Linked DNA regions of Homo sapiens: all the other regions are linked to region 4. The links are contacts of gene promoters, found by promoter capture Hi-C in human tissues and cell types (Jung and others, 2019). All regions are on one chromosome and are shown on one strand. Each heading gives the region's core, a stretch centred on a gene start or on the middle of the fragment in contact. The rest is flanking DNA. Distances are from core to core; before and after follow the strand shown.

The links. Contacts are between HindIII fragments. The study calls those that stand out against the background at their distance.
Region 1: a contact is called between a fragment that was not itself captured here and the fragment with the promoter of HAS3 in region 4, in 2 of the 25 tissues and cell types used here (spleen and thymus).
Region 2: a fragment that was not itself captured here is called in contact with the fragment with the promoter of HAS3 in region 4 in 2 of the 25 tissues and cell types used here (dorsolateral prefrontal cortex and mesenchymal stem cells).
Region 3: a contact is called between the fragment with the promoter of SMPD3 here and the fragment with the promoter of HAS3 in region 4, in 3 of the 25 tissues and cell types used here (adrenal gland, mesenchymal stem cells and mesendoderm cells).

What each region holds. Positions count from the first base shown.
Region 1 is chr16:68,576,832-68,580,084 of GRCh38, reverse strand. No RefSeq gene overlaps it. Among named protein-coding and RNA genes, the nearest start is that of ZFP90, 39 kb to the right of the region's middle. The HindIII fragment of the contact is 6,765 bases long and covers 1-3,253 here.
Region 2 is chr16:68,419,403-68,422,649 of GRCh38, reverse strand. The region is part of intron 1 of SMPD3 (sphingomyelin phosphodiesterase 3); the gene reads left to right. Among named protein-coding and RNA genes, the nearest start is that of SMPD3, 27 kb to the left of the region's middle. The HindIII fragment of the contact is 3,675 bases long and covers 1-3,247 here.
Region 3 is chr16:68,446,487-68,449,771 of GRCh38, reverse strand. SMPD3 (sphingomyelin phosphodiesterase 3) reads left to right here and starts at 1,264. Exons shown (of 9, transcript NM_018667.4): 1 at 1,264-1,419. LOC124903705 (a long non-coding RNA gene) reads right to left here and starts at 932. Exons shown (of 2, transcript XR_007065097.1): 1 at 706-932; 2 at 1-607. RefSeq lists an enhancer at 897-946 and a silencer at 1,047-1,566. The HindIII fragment of the contact is 13,014 bases long and covers 1-3,285 here.
Region 4 is chr16:69,103,897-69,107,142 of GRCh38, reverse strand. It overlaps HAS3 (hyaluronan synthase 3), which reads right to left and starts at 1,490. Exons shown (of 4, transcript NM_001199280.2): 1 at 1,356-1,490. RefSeq lists a silencer at 864-1,143 and an enhancer at 1,277-1,825. The HindIII fragment of the contact is 9,378 bases long and covers 1-3,246 here.

The DNA of each region.
Region 1 (3,253 bases), core at 263-2,762, 530 kb after region 4:
CCTGTAATCCCAGCACTTTGGGAGGCCGAAGCGGGCAAATCATCTGAGGTTAGGGGTTTGAGACCAGCCTGGCCAACATGGTGAAAAATACATTTTTACATTGTATTGTAAAAATACAAAACTTAGCCGAGTGTGGTGGTGCATACCTGTAATCCCAGCTACTGGAGAGGCTGAGGCGCAAGAATCACTTGAACCCAGGAGGTGGAGGTTGCGGTGAGCGGAGATTGTACCACTGCACTCCAGCCTGGGCAACACAGCGAGACTCTGTCTCTGAAAAAAATAATATATGTATATATAATTCAGTGAGGTTAGACAGATGTGAATACTCATGAAGCTATCACCACAATCAACTTATCAAGCATTTCTGTCACCCCTAGGAATTTTCTTGTGTCCCTCTGCAGCCAATCTCTCCTTCTGCTCCTGGCCCTAGGCAACTGCTGATTGGCTTTTTGTCAATAAAGGTACATTTTCTAGAATTTTGTACAAATGAAATCATGTAGTATGTAACCTTTTGGGTCTTTCACTTAGCATAATTATTTTGAAATTCATGCATGTTGTATGTATTAACAGTTCATTCCTTCTTATTACTGTGTAGTATTCCACTGTGTGGATACATCATGATTTGTTTATCCATTCACCTGCTGATGCACCTTTGAGTTGTTTCCAGTTTTTGACTATTGCAAAAAAAAAGTTGCTAGAAACATTCATGTACAGGTCTGCATGGACATGTTTTCTCTTGTTTTTTAGAGACAGCATCTTGTGTTGCCAAGGCTGAAGTGCAGTGGTACAATCATAGCTCACTGCAACCTCGAATTCATGGGCTCAGGCACTCTTCCCAACTCAGCCTCCTGAGTAGCTGGGACTACAGGCACACGCCACCATACTCAAGTAATAAAAAAAAAATTTTTTTTAAGAGATGGGATCTTACTGTGTTGCCCAGGCTGATCCGGAACTCCTGACCTCAAGTGATCCTCCTGCCTTGGCCTCCCAAACTGTTGGGATTACAGGCAGGAGCCACCACACCCAGCCCAATTTTTCTCTTAAAGTCTGTTTTGTTCTGACATTGGTATAGGCATCACAGCTCTCTCTTGGTTTCTATTTGTGTGGTATAAATCTCTTCCCATCCTTTTACTTTCAACCTGTTTGTACCTTTGAATTTAATTTGTGTCTCTTGTAGGCAACATCTAGTTGATTTTTTTTTTTTTTTTTTTTTTTTTTTTTAGGCAGAGTCTCACTCTGTTGCCCAAGCTGGAATGCAGTGGCACAATCTCGGCTCACTGCAACCTCTACCTCCTGGGTTCAAGCAATTCTCCTGCCTCAGCCTCCCAAGTAGCTTGGATTACGGGTGTGTGCCACCATGCCTGGCTAATTTTTTTATTTTTAGTAGACATTGGGTTTCACCACGTTGGCCAAGCTGGTCTCGAGCTGCTAACCTCAGGTCCGCCCACCTCAGCCTCCCAAAGTGCTGGGATTACAGGCATGAGCCACCACGCCCCGGCCTGAATCATGTTTTTAAATCCATTCTGCTGGCCAGGTGCAGTGGCTCATGCCTGTAATCCCAGATTACAGGGATTACCCGCCTCCCAGGTTCACACGATTCTCCTGCCTCAGCCTCCTGAGTAGCTGGGACTACAGGCGCCTGCCACCACTCCTGGCTAATTTTTTGTATTTTTAGTAGAGACAGGGTTTCACCGTGTTAGCCAGGATGGTCTCAATCTCCTGACCGTGTGATCTGCCTGCCTCAGCCTCCCAAAGTGCTGGGATTACAGGTGTGAGCCACCGGGCCTGGCCTTTTTTTTTTATTTTTTTTGAGATGGAATCTCACTCTATTGCCCAGGCTGGAGTGCAGTGATGCAATATCAACTCACTGCAACACATACCTCCCAGGTTCAAGTGATTCTCCTGCCTCATCCTCCTGAGTAGCTGGGATTACAGGCACCTGCCATCACACCCAGCGAGCTTTTGTATTTTTAATAGAGATGGGGTTTTGCTATGTTGGCCAGGCTGGTCTCAAACTCCTAAGCTTCAGTCTCCCAAAGTGCTGGGATTACAGGCATGAGCCACTGCACCTGGCCCAATCTATTCCTTTTGATTGTGCTTAATCCATTTACACTTGATGTATTTACTTGTAAGGTAGAGTTTATATCTGCCATTTTGGTATTTGTATCTATAGGTCTTATGTCTTTTTGATATGGCCTGTTTTCTTTTGTGTTAAACAGTATTTTCCAGTGTATCATTTAATTTGATTATGATGTGTCTAGGTGTGGACCTCTTAAGAGTTTATCCTCCTTGGAGTTTTTTTGAGATTCTTAGATGTATGTTTTTTGATCTGGGAAGTTTTGGCCATTATTTCTTCAAATATTATTTCTGCTCCTTTCCCTCCCTTCTCTTCTTCTGGGACTCCTGTTACACAAATGTTGGTATGCTTGATGGTGTCCCACAGGTCTCTGAGGCTCTGTTTACTTTTTTTCATTCCTTTTAAAATCCTGCTCCTCAGACTGAAACTCTCAATTGACGTAGCTTCGAGTTTGCTGAATATTTCTTTTGCTTGCTCAAATCTGCTGCTGAACCCCTCTAGTGAATTTTTCATTTCAGTTAATGTACTTTTGAATTCCCAAATTTCTATTTTGTCATTAAAAATAATTTCTACCTCTTTATTGATAGTTTCTATTTGGTGAAATATTGTTCTCATATTTTCCTTTAGTTCTCTAGACATGGTTTCATTTAGTTCTTTAAACATATTTTAAAATAGCTAAGGTAAAGTCTTGTTTAGGCTTCCTCAGGAAGTTTCTATTGATTGTTTTTTTCCCCCTGTGGGTGGGCCATATATTCCTGTTGTGTTGCATGCCTCATAATTTTTTGTTGAATGTTGAACACTTAAAACATAAAGTGGCAATTCTGGAAATCAGATTTCCCCTCCCCTTCCTAGAGTTTGTTGCTGGCTGTTGTTGCTGCTGTTTATTTAGTAACTTTTCTGAACAAATTCTTAAACTCTGTGTTCTCTGTCATGTGGCCCCTGAAATCTCTGCTCAGTTAGCTAGTGGTCAGCTGATTAGACAGAGAGTTCCTTAAATGCCTAGAACAACCAAGTCTCCTGGTCTTTTCCAAAGAGCAAAGGGCTCTTGTGTCTTTAGGGGCACACTTTCCACACTCAGCTAGGCAGTTTACTACCCTGCCTTAGGCATTGCTTCCTGCTTGCATAGAGCCTCAAGGTCAGCTGTTAAGCGATAGCTTAGTGACTTTCTGGGTTTTT
Region 2 (3,247 bases), core at 325-2,824, 680 kb after region 4:
CCCTTTTCTCCAAACCCTCAGCATCATCAAACTAAACAACCCCTCAGTGGGAGGTGGAATTCTTCACCACCAGTTCTCACCTGACTGGAGGCCTCCAAGCAGCTGGGCCTGTACTGTTTTTTATTTCAACAACAGCAAAACCTTCTTTTCCTCCCTCTGAGCACTTTACTATACTCTGTTTCCTGCACATTCTTCCAGCTTCTTGCTCAGGGGCCTTATACGTCTATCTTGTCCAAGCACCTGCCCAGATCACAGCAAAATGAGAACCAGGCCCAACATCCATGGCTTTCCCAGTTCTGGGCAAGGGAAGAGGTTAATTCAGATTCCATGAGGGCCTCTGCAGAATCACAATATTTCCTCACCTAGGATAAATTCCACCTCCTTCTGAGGATTTCTGCTGTAGTTTGGTGATGCTGAGGAATATGTTATCTTACAGTTTTGGAGGTCAGAAACCCAAAATCAATTTCACTGAGCTAAAATCAAAGCATCAGCAGGCTGGTGTTCCTTCGGGAAGCTCTAGGGGAGAATCTGTTTCCTTCTAACTTCTAGAGCCTGCCTATATTCCTTGGCTCCTTGCTCCTTCCTCCATTTTCAAAGCTTCAGCCTCTGCTTCCTTGTCATCCTCTTCTTCCACCTTCAGCGGTCTTGCTTCCCTCTCAAAAGGATCCTTGTCGTTACGTTGGGCCTATCTGGATAATCCAGGCTTCTCTCCCCATCTCAAGATGCTTGACTTAATCACATCTGCAAAGTTCCTTTTGCCACATAGAGTAGCATATTCACCAGTTCTGGAGATTAGGATATGGACATCTTTCAGGGGCTACTACCAAGTCTAATAGGCAGGCCACTGGACCCCTAAGCCTTGGTTTCATCAAGCAAGTAGGGAAGAAAAACAATGCCCACCCCTAGACTCTTTAATGGGTCGAACTCAATGGTGCCCTGGAATGTCAATGGCTAGGAATGGAGGCCGAGCTATGAGTATCAGGCCTCATTCCCTAGCCAAGTCAAAGAGATGTGTCTGGGAGGTGGTAGAGTGAGGGAGTGGGGCTTGGACTTAATTGTTTTACTGGACATGGCTTCTTCAGGTGTACTGGGGGAGTGGTTTGCACAAACACTGCCAGGTTGGTCATAAGTCTGTCCCCCTGGCTCATTGCCATGCTGGCTTTGGCTCCATTGCCTCTGGTCTCTTCATCCCCCACCCCACATACCTATCTTCCTGTGCTGTCATTCCAAAGCACACATATAACCACGTCTCTCCCTTTTGTGGCTCCCCCTCATCCTTGGGTGGAGGTTCAAGCTCTTTACCTTGAGTTACACAGTCTCTGCCATTCCCCACAAGCGCCAGACAGAGCCACAGAAAGCAGGTGGCAGATGTGCGAGGGCAGAGCTGGGAATGGGGGTGAAGCAGATGAGGGAGGATGGGGATACTGTGCAGATGGTGTTGCAGGGACGGGCCTGACTCCAGGGGCCCCTGTGTACAGAGGCAGTTGGTGCCGACATGCTGGTGGTCTCTGGCTGTGAACCCAGGTGGGCCAGTGAATGAGCATCAGGTAGAACCCAGCCCATCAGAGCTGTTGGCCTGGTCCTGACTCAAATGGGAGTGGCTTCTGGGTGCTGGTTATTGTTCTGAAGTCTGGAAGGACAAGAGGGGAAGTCTTTTCTCCACAAATGATTTTGGCCAAACCCCAGGGATGGAGAATGCCCACTAGGACCTGGATGAGCTGAAGGCCATAGCTTGCTGAGGGAGCGATTTGGTCTCTCTCTGCATTAGCTGAAGACATGTTGAAGTGGGTTCAGGGCCCCCACCTACCTGAGTCACCATCATGAAGCTTAATTAATGCTTACAAAGTGCTCTGAGGCCTTGACTGAGAGGCCTCATGTGAACACAGAATATCCTTATTAATCACTGTGACAGCACCAAGTGAGGTGGCCTATGGGGCAGCTGCCTCCACACACAGAACAATGGATGCAGCCCAGCAGTTAAATTGCGATTTTGAAGAGTAGTCCTGATCAGCTGGTTCAAAAGCAGCTTAGCTGGAGGAGGCAGGCCTGCCTAGGAGCCACTTAACTCACCTGGCCCTTATCTCCCATGCATTAAGTTGAGGCAATAAAACGCCCCTCCCTGCTGGGCAGGGATAATGGGAGGACTGTCAGGTAATGGTGAAGCATCCCTTTTAAGCCTGGGTAACCAGGCTATTAGCCTAGCCAGAGGGAGCCAACTGGAAGATCATATAGGCTCCGTACCAGGCTGAGTGTCTTTGGACAAGTCCCTCAACTTCTCTGAACCTCAATTTCCTCATCTGCAAAGTGGGACAATAACAATTGTACCTTTTTCCTTATAGGATTGCGAAGTTCAAATGAAATGGATATGAAAGGTGCCTATAGTAATGATATTAGTAATAAGAATAATGGCCGGGCATGGTGGCTCACACGTATAATCCCAGCACTTTGGGAGGCTGAGGCAGATGGATCACCTGAGGTCAGGAGTTCGGTACCAGCCTGGCCAACATGGCAAAACCTGTGCATGCCTGTGGTCTCAGCTACTTGGGAGACAGGTGGGAGGATTGCTTGAGCCTAGGAGGTTGAGGCTGCAGTGAGCCAAGATCACACCACTGCACTCCAGGCCATGTGACAAGAAAGACACTATCTCTTAAAAAAAAAAAAAAAAAAGCAATAGCTATTCGGGATACTACATGTTCCAATAATCAGCTACTCTGATCCCCACTTTACAGATGAGGGAGCCCAAGAACAAAGTGACCTCCAAGTTCCCACAATTAGTGATAGGTGGAGCTGGAACTCAGGCAGTCTGGCTTCAAAGTCTGTTCTCTCCCCCACTCTCTGATGCTGCCTTTATCATTAGTGTCATTATACTCATTTTAGGAGTAAGGCTTCATTATGGTTGTCATCTTCATCATCATCATTACATGGGGTTCATGGAAGCTGGGCCCTGGGGCATCTGTGCTATGTTGGAGGTGAGGAGGGTTCTCTCTATCTTCCATAGGAAGGGAGGAAAGTTATTGTTGTCAAGATAGAGGTGAAGTACATGGTTTTTCTCTTACCAAAACTCTGGAGATGCAAGGAAATGTGTAACAGGATTTGAGGAAAGACAGTCAACAGATGTTGGATGCTGCATCCCCATCCTGCCCCATCCCTCTGGCTAGGCGTTGAGGGGGACATTGTCCCCACATGTGATATACAATGAGCTGCCTGTGGGTGATAGGGCAGTAGATTCCTGGCCACCCAGCCATCA
Region 3 (3,285 bases), core at 15-2,514, 660 kb after region 4:
CCTGCCTCGGCCTCCCAAAGTTCTGGGATTACAGGCGTGAGCCACCACGCCCGGCCCAATTCATTTTCAATTCAACAAATATCTATATTTATATCTCAATAGCTAGTGAGTGCCTACTACGTGCCAGATACTAGACACTGGACTGTAAGTATGAATAATATAGACATGGCCCCTCCCCTGTGGATCTTATAATGAGGAAGACGAGCACATAAACATGCAAGTAGAACAGGGGAAGTAGAGGGTGCTGCTCAAACACAGGGTGGGGCACTCAACAGACAGCCCAGCATCTAGATGTCTTCACAAAACAGGCAATGTCTAGGCTGGGGCTTGCCGACGAGTTAGCTGAGGGCAGGGTGGAGAGGCCCAAGGGAGTAGGAGGCTTCCCAGCTTCCAAAGAAGTTAAGAGTGTTGCAAAAAAGTGGAGTCCAGATCTTGAAGGGGAGAGTGGGCTTAGGTCCGGGGGCATGTGAAGCGCCCTCCGTCTGCTGCGCTGGGGGAGATGCTGCGGTATCCTGGAGTGGTGTGAAGGAGGCCAGGACCTGCGATGGGAAGACGGAGACGGGAAGGCCCTGGTGGCCCAAGGGATGACCAAAAGTGAAGCGCTCCTCTATGACAAGATTGAGACAAAAATAAAGGAATAAAGTTCTGAATGCGGTGGGAGAGTCTCCTCCGTCCTCCCTCACCTTTGCTGGGCAGGAACCAAACCTGCTTGCCCTCGGTTTGCCCCATCACCGACGGGTGTGGTCGGGGGCACAGCTCTTCGCCCTTCTTCTCAGATAGGAAAACTGAGGCCCAGGGTCCTGAGGCAGAAATCAAGGTTTTCTCCTCGAAATGGCCTCCCAAGAGGCTGCCCGGGGTCTCACACGATCCTTCGAGGGTCCTGCGGCCTGCCCCACGCCTCCGCCAGCCATCCTCGGCTGGTCGTCTTTGCTATGGAAACGGTCCTCCCGCCCTGCTCCGCGCCTCCGTGTCTTCAGTGCACTCTGGGAAATGCAGTCCCGCTCTGTTTGCCTACCCGCGGCGTGAGCCCACTCCGCGTCCTTAAAGAACTATAAGTCCCAGAAGGCTGTGCGAAACTCCGCCGGTCTCTGGGGGATGTGGTCTTGAAGGAGAGACCCAGGAACCTGCGGGCGGGGCCGGAGGGAGAGGGGAGGACGCCCCCAATGGGCAGACTCCTGGGCGGGGTCCGGGTCACCATTGGCTCCGGCGGCGCGAGGGAGGCGGGGTCAGAGGAATGAAGCGCGGAGCTGTTCGCCGCTCCAGGTGCTGAGTCTGAGGGAGGCTCCGGACCCGAGAGCCGCGAGAGCCGCCGCCGCTGCGGCCGCCGCCAGATCTGCGGCCGGGAGCCCGGGCTGTGAGGAGCCGGGAGGAGCGGGGTGCGCTGCCGGGCGCTGACCGCCCTCCCGCCCGCCGTCAGAGGTCAGTGCTGCTGAATTCGCTTTTGTTTTCTTGGGGAGCGGGCGAACCGAGGCGTGAGGGGCTGGGGAGTTGACGGGACGTGTTCTCGTTGCTCTCAGGACCGCGGGTCCCGGACAGCCGCCGACTGACTAGGGGCCTCCCGTGGCCGGGCGCCGGAGGTCGGAGCAGCTTGGGTTAGTTTTCGTTTTATCATGGAGAAGGCTCTTGGGTATGAGGGGCGAGGGCTGGGGGTCACCCCCACCCCCCATCTCTCCTGGGAGAGCGAGGAGGCTTGGACCCTCCCTCCCGCTGTGCCTGGCGACGGGGCTGCTCGGATTACTCAGGACGGGAGGATGAGGTGTTGTGGGATGAAGGGACTCGAGGCAGGGGGACCCCTCCCCGCAACACTTCGGCTGCTCGAGGTTACAAAGGAGTCTGGTGGTGATGGATGAGATCGCGGACCGCTCCCCTAGCCCAGACCCTCCCAGGGGTATTCAGGAAGGGCTGCTTGGGATGCAGGGAAGACCCTTGCCCAGGCCCCTTCCTCCACACTCGCCCCCCTCCCTATTCCCCCCTCCTCCCTTGGCCCTAGGGTTTTGTAAAGAGGAGGATCGAGGATGTGGAAGAGACAGAGGACTCTTACCCCTCCCACTTGGACCCTCCTAGGTTACTGGTGAAGGGTGGAATTGGAATGTGGCAGGGAAACGCTGGGAGACCCCTCCCCATCCTTCTCGGAGTCGCGGGTGGAGGAAAGCACTGACACTCGGAATCCCCCGCGCTCGGGCCCGCGCCGAGGGTTGGGTGGCCTGGGTGTGAGAGGTAGTGTAGGGGGATGTACGAGGACAGGAGGGACCCCTCCCCACCTCTCCCCACCTGGGCCTTATCTCCCAGGCCCTCCCTACCTGGATCCAGGCCTGGGGCTCTAAGTCGAGACGACCCGCCCTAGCCCACCACGCCCCGGGGACCGAGCCTCTGGCACCGCAGCTGGGGGCCAATCCCAGATGGGCATGTACAGAGCGGGACGGGGCGGGTCTCCCCTCAAGCACTCAAGAGCTCCAGGTAGACGCTACCCCCAACCTCGTGCCCGCGAATCTTTGGGGGCTGCTCCGCTCCGATGCAGGGCGCACCCCAAACCGAGGCTCGGGGACCTGCTTCCAGGACGCGCGGTGGCTGTTCCAAGGCATGGGGCTTTCGCGCTCGGCCCAGGCATCCTCGAGAGGACAAAGCGGCGGTCGCCGCACTGGCAGGCCTGCGCCGCGGGCTGGGCGGGGGGCGCGGCCGCGGAGGGGGGGCTTCGGGCGCGGCGCGGGCAGCTTCCACGGAAACGTGCCAGGAGCGGGGCGGGAGACAAAGCGCACCGGCTTCTAGCGGGCCCGCGCGAGCCGGGATGGAAAATCCCGAGGGAGGAGGCGGCTGAGCCAGGGCAGGGCACTATGCCCCCACATCTTTCCCTTTTCCCATACCCCCTACCCTAAGGCCAGCCAGGCACCCAGGATTCTGTGCACGCGATGGTGACCAGGGCCCCTTCGGGGGCCGAGAGTGGGGGTGTTCAGGACCTGTGACCACTAGGACAGGGACAGGTGGGGGCTCCACCTTGAGCAAGGGGCCTGGAGTTCACAGGGCGTGAGTGGGCCAGGGTCCAGAGGGACATCCTGACTGGACCCTCCCACGCCCCATCAGCCATGTTAGGTCAAATTTGGTTCTGGGGAGGGGATGTGTTTAAGTGTGTGAGGGTTTGCATGGATGATGGTGTGGGTCAGAGTGTGGGTGTGAATGTGTGTGACTAGATGAATGTACCCATGTGTGTTTCAGTCTTCATGTGTGTGGCACGGCCAGAGCTTGCGCTTCGGGCTGTGTGTGTGTGTGTGTGTGTGTGTGTGTGTGTGT
Region 4 (3,246 bases), core at 241-2,740:
CGGCAGAGGCTGTGGGGTGATCCTACAGCCTGGACCGCCGCCTCCTCATGCCCTTCGCTCATCCACGGGAGCCCAGCCCAGGCAAACTAACGCGCACTCGGCTTTCAAGGGCACAAGGTTGGGGGCGCTCTCAAGTCCGGCTCCCAGGACTACGGAAGGAGAACCCCCAGTCAAGGACGCACGCTTCTCCATCAAGCCTCCGAAACTTTGAGGGGCTGCTGGTGTGCAGCGTCTCTCCCGCTGACAGGTGCGCCCCGCGGCAGGGCCACACGCAGCGGCATGGAAACTTGTGCGCCCAACGGGGCTCCTCCTCTTGTGCCCGGCCGCCCTCCGGGCCCCTCCAGGCCGGCCAGGGGAGGGGAGCCCACTCCCCCGGACACGTGCTGCCGCGGCCCGGCTAACCCGCAGGAACGTGGGCGCCTGGTACCTTGGTGCCCGGACAGGTGCAAACCCCCGGGAGGTCGTAGAAGGTGCGGGGGAGGGGTACCCCAGCCAGCCTGGAGCCCCGCACCGGCGTCCGCCTCCTAATTCATTCACAAAACAGGAGCCGCCGGGGAGGAGGGAGGCGAGGCTGGAAGAGGAGAGGATGCAGGAAGAAAGGGAGGAGGGGTCAGTGGGGAGGGGGCTGCAGGAACGGCCGCCGGGAAGCCCGGGGCTGCCGCCGCCCCCAACCCGCCTCCCCGCGCCGGACGCGGCGCCCGCAGGGCTGGGAGCTGGCCGGGTGCGGGGGGCTCGGCGAGAGGCACCCCTGCCACCCGGCGCGCCCCGGCCTCGGCGCAGCCCCGCGCGGCCCTCCCCTCCTGGGTGCCGGCCGGCCCGCGCTCACCGTGCCGCCGGCTGCCGCGCTCCGGAGCTCAGCAGGCCCGCGGCGGCTCCATGCCCCTCCTCCCGCTCCGCTCCGCGCCGCCGCGCGCTCCGACTGCCGCCTGCCCAGCCGAGCCGCCCTTAAGTACCCGGCGCGTGCCCGCCAGGAGAGGCGCCTCCCCCGGCCCTGGGGCCGGGAAAGTTGACCAGAGTGGGAGGGCCCCCGCGGGCGCACCCCCGACCCCGCGCGGTCCCAGGGAGCGCCACAAGCCAGCGCTCGGCGGGGACGCCTAGTCCCGGGTGGACGCGGCTCCGGCTCGCAAGACTCGCAGCCCCTGCGCCCTCTCCGAAGCTGGGTCCCCCGAGTGGGGCCGAAGGCCACGCGGCTCTGCAATCGCCCTGGGACCAGCTGCCAAGGCAAGACGGTCATTGGGCTCAACCTAGAACCTGAAGCGTCGTTAACTTTCCAGATACCACGCAGGGACTTCCAAAATTGTTACTCTCCCTCCCCGCCCCCACGCCCCGCTCTCTAACCCGCAAAACCTACTCACCCTGCAAGGAAGGCGAGCTGAGAGCACTCTTCCCCGACTTCTGCACGCGAAGGGGCAGTTCGCTGTCTAGGGGGCTCCCGAAAGCCAAGGCAGCAAAACCTTCCTGCTGGCAGGAAAGAGGCGCTGAAGAGAATTGTCAAATGTAAAAAGGCTGGTCAAAGAAGGTGTTAACAATTGTGACAGCTTAGCTTTGAATTCCGCAGTGGGGCGCTGATGACTTTAAGGCGGTTTGCAAAAGCTGCAAACGGTTTTGTAGGAACCTTGGAGGTTCCGGTGTCTTAAAGCCAAAACAATTCCTCCTCTTCTTTTTCACACCTTTATTTCCGACATCCATGACCTCCTAAATTCCCAACTGACCTTATCGACAGTAGTTTTCAGGTCCCTAAAAGATAGTGCTAGACTCGAGTAAAGTGAGATGAAGTGAGTTGGGGTGCACTGGGGTGGGGTGAGATCGAGGAGGGGGGAGAGTTGTTAGCAGAGACAAGAAGTTTAGAACCAGCTGAAGGCGATGAGTTTTTACATCTCAGGAAAACTTGAAGAGAAATTATAATTAATAACTAGTTTTTAAAAAATGAGTGGCCGGGCGCCGTGGCTCAAGCCTGTAATCTCAGCACTTTCGGCGTTACGGGCACCATGCCCGTAATCCCAGCTACTCGGGAGGCTGAGGCAGGAGAATCGCTTGAACCCCGCAGGTGGAGGTTGCAGTGAGCTGAAATCGCACCACTGCACTCCAGCTTGGGCAGCAGAGCGAGACTCCGTCTCCAAAAAAAAAAAAAAAAAAAAAAAAAAAAAAAACCAAAAAACAGAGTTTACCTGTTTTCCAAATACACCTGATATAATTTCTATCACTTCTTCCCAAGCTGCAACAAATTTATAGGCACCTGAGCTGCAGTCTATAAACTTCTCCTCTCGCAAGTTTTAGGGGCTCAGGGACTTGCCTGCCCACCATTGCTCAGTCTGGGCCACAGACCTCACACCTCAGTCCCCGCAGGCAAGCAAAGACCCCAGGCACACCTACTCCACACAATCCCATCTTACATTATTGGCCAGGCACAGTGGCTCACACCTGTAGTCCCAGCACTTTGGGAGGCTGAAGATGGAGGATCGCTTGAGGCCAGGAGTTCAAGACCAGCCTGGGCAACAAAGCGAGACTTCCCCCGTCTCTACAAAAATTAAAATTAAAAAATTAGCCAGGGCCGGGTGCAGGCTCACGCCTGTAATCCCAACACTCTGGGAGGCCGAGGTGGGCGGATCACGAGGTCAGAAGTTAGAGACCAGCCTGGCTAATATGGTGAAACCCTATCTCTACTAAAAAATACAAAAATTAGCCAGGCATGGTGGCACGTGCCTGTAGTCCCAGCCACTGGGAAGGTTGAGGCAGAAGAATCGCTTAAACCCAGGAGACAGAGGTTGCAGTGGGCCAAGATTATGCCACTGTACTCCAGCCTGGGCGACAGAGTGAGACTCCATCTCAAAAAATAAAAATAAAAAAAAAAAGAAAAAGAAAAGAAAAGAAAAAAAAAAAAAACATTAGCCAGGCATGGTGGAGTGTGCCTGTAGTCCCAGCTACTAGGGAGGCTGAGGCAGGAGAATTGCTTGAGCCCAGGAGGTCAAGGCAACAGTGAGCTATGATCGAACCACTACACTCCAGCCTGGGTAACAGAACAAGACGCTGTCTCAAAAACAAATTCCTGGACTCCAGCAGCCCTTCCGCCTCAGCCTCCCTAGGAGCTAGTCCTATAGGCATGCTATCCAGCCCAGCTGCCAATGTGTTTTGAACTTCAGATGGCCTGAGGGGCCCTACCAGAGCCATTCCTACTTACACAAAGATGGAGAAGAAGCCTTAGGTTGGTGGAGGGGAGGGCTCTAGAGTCTGCCAGTAAGCCCCAGT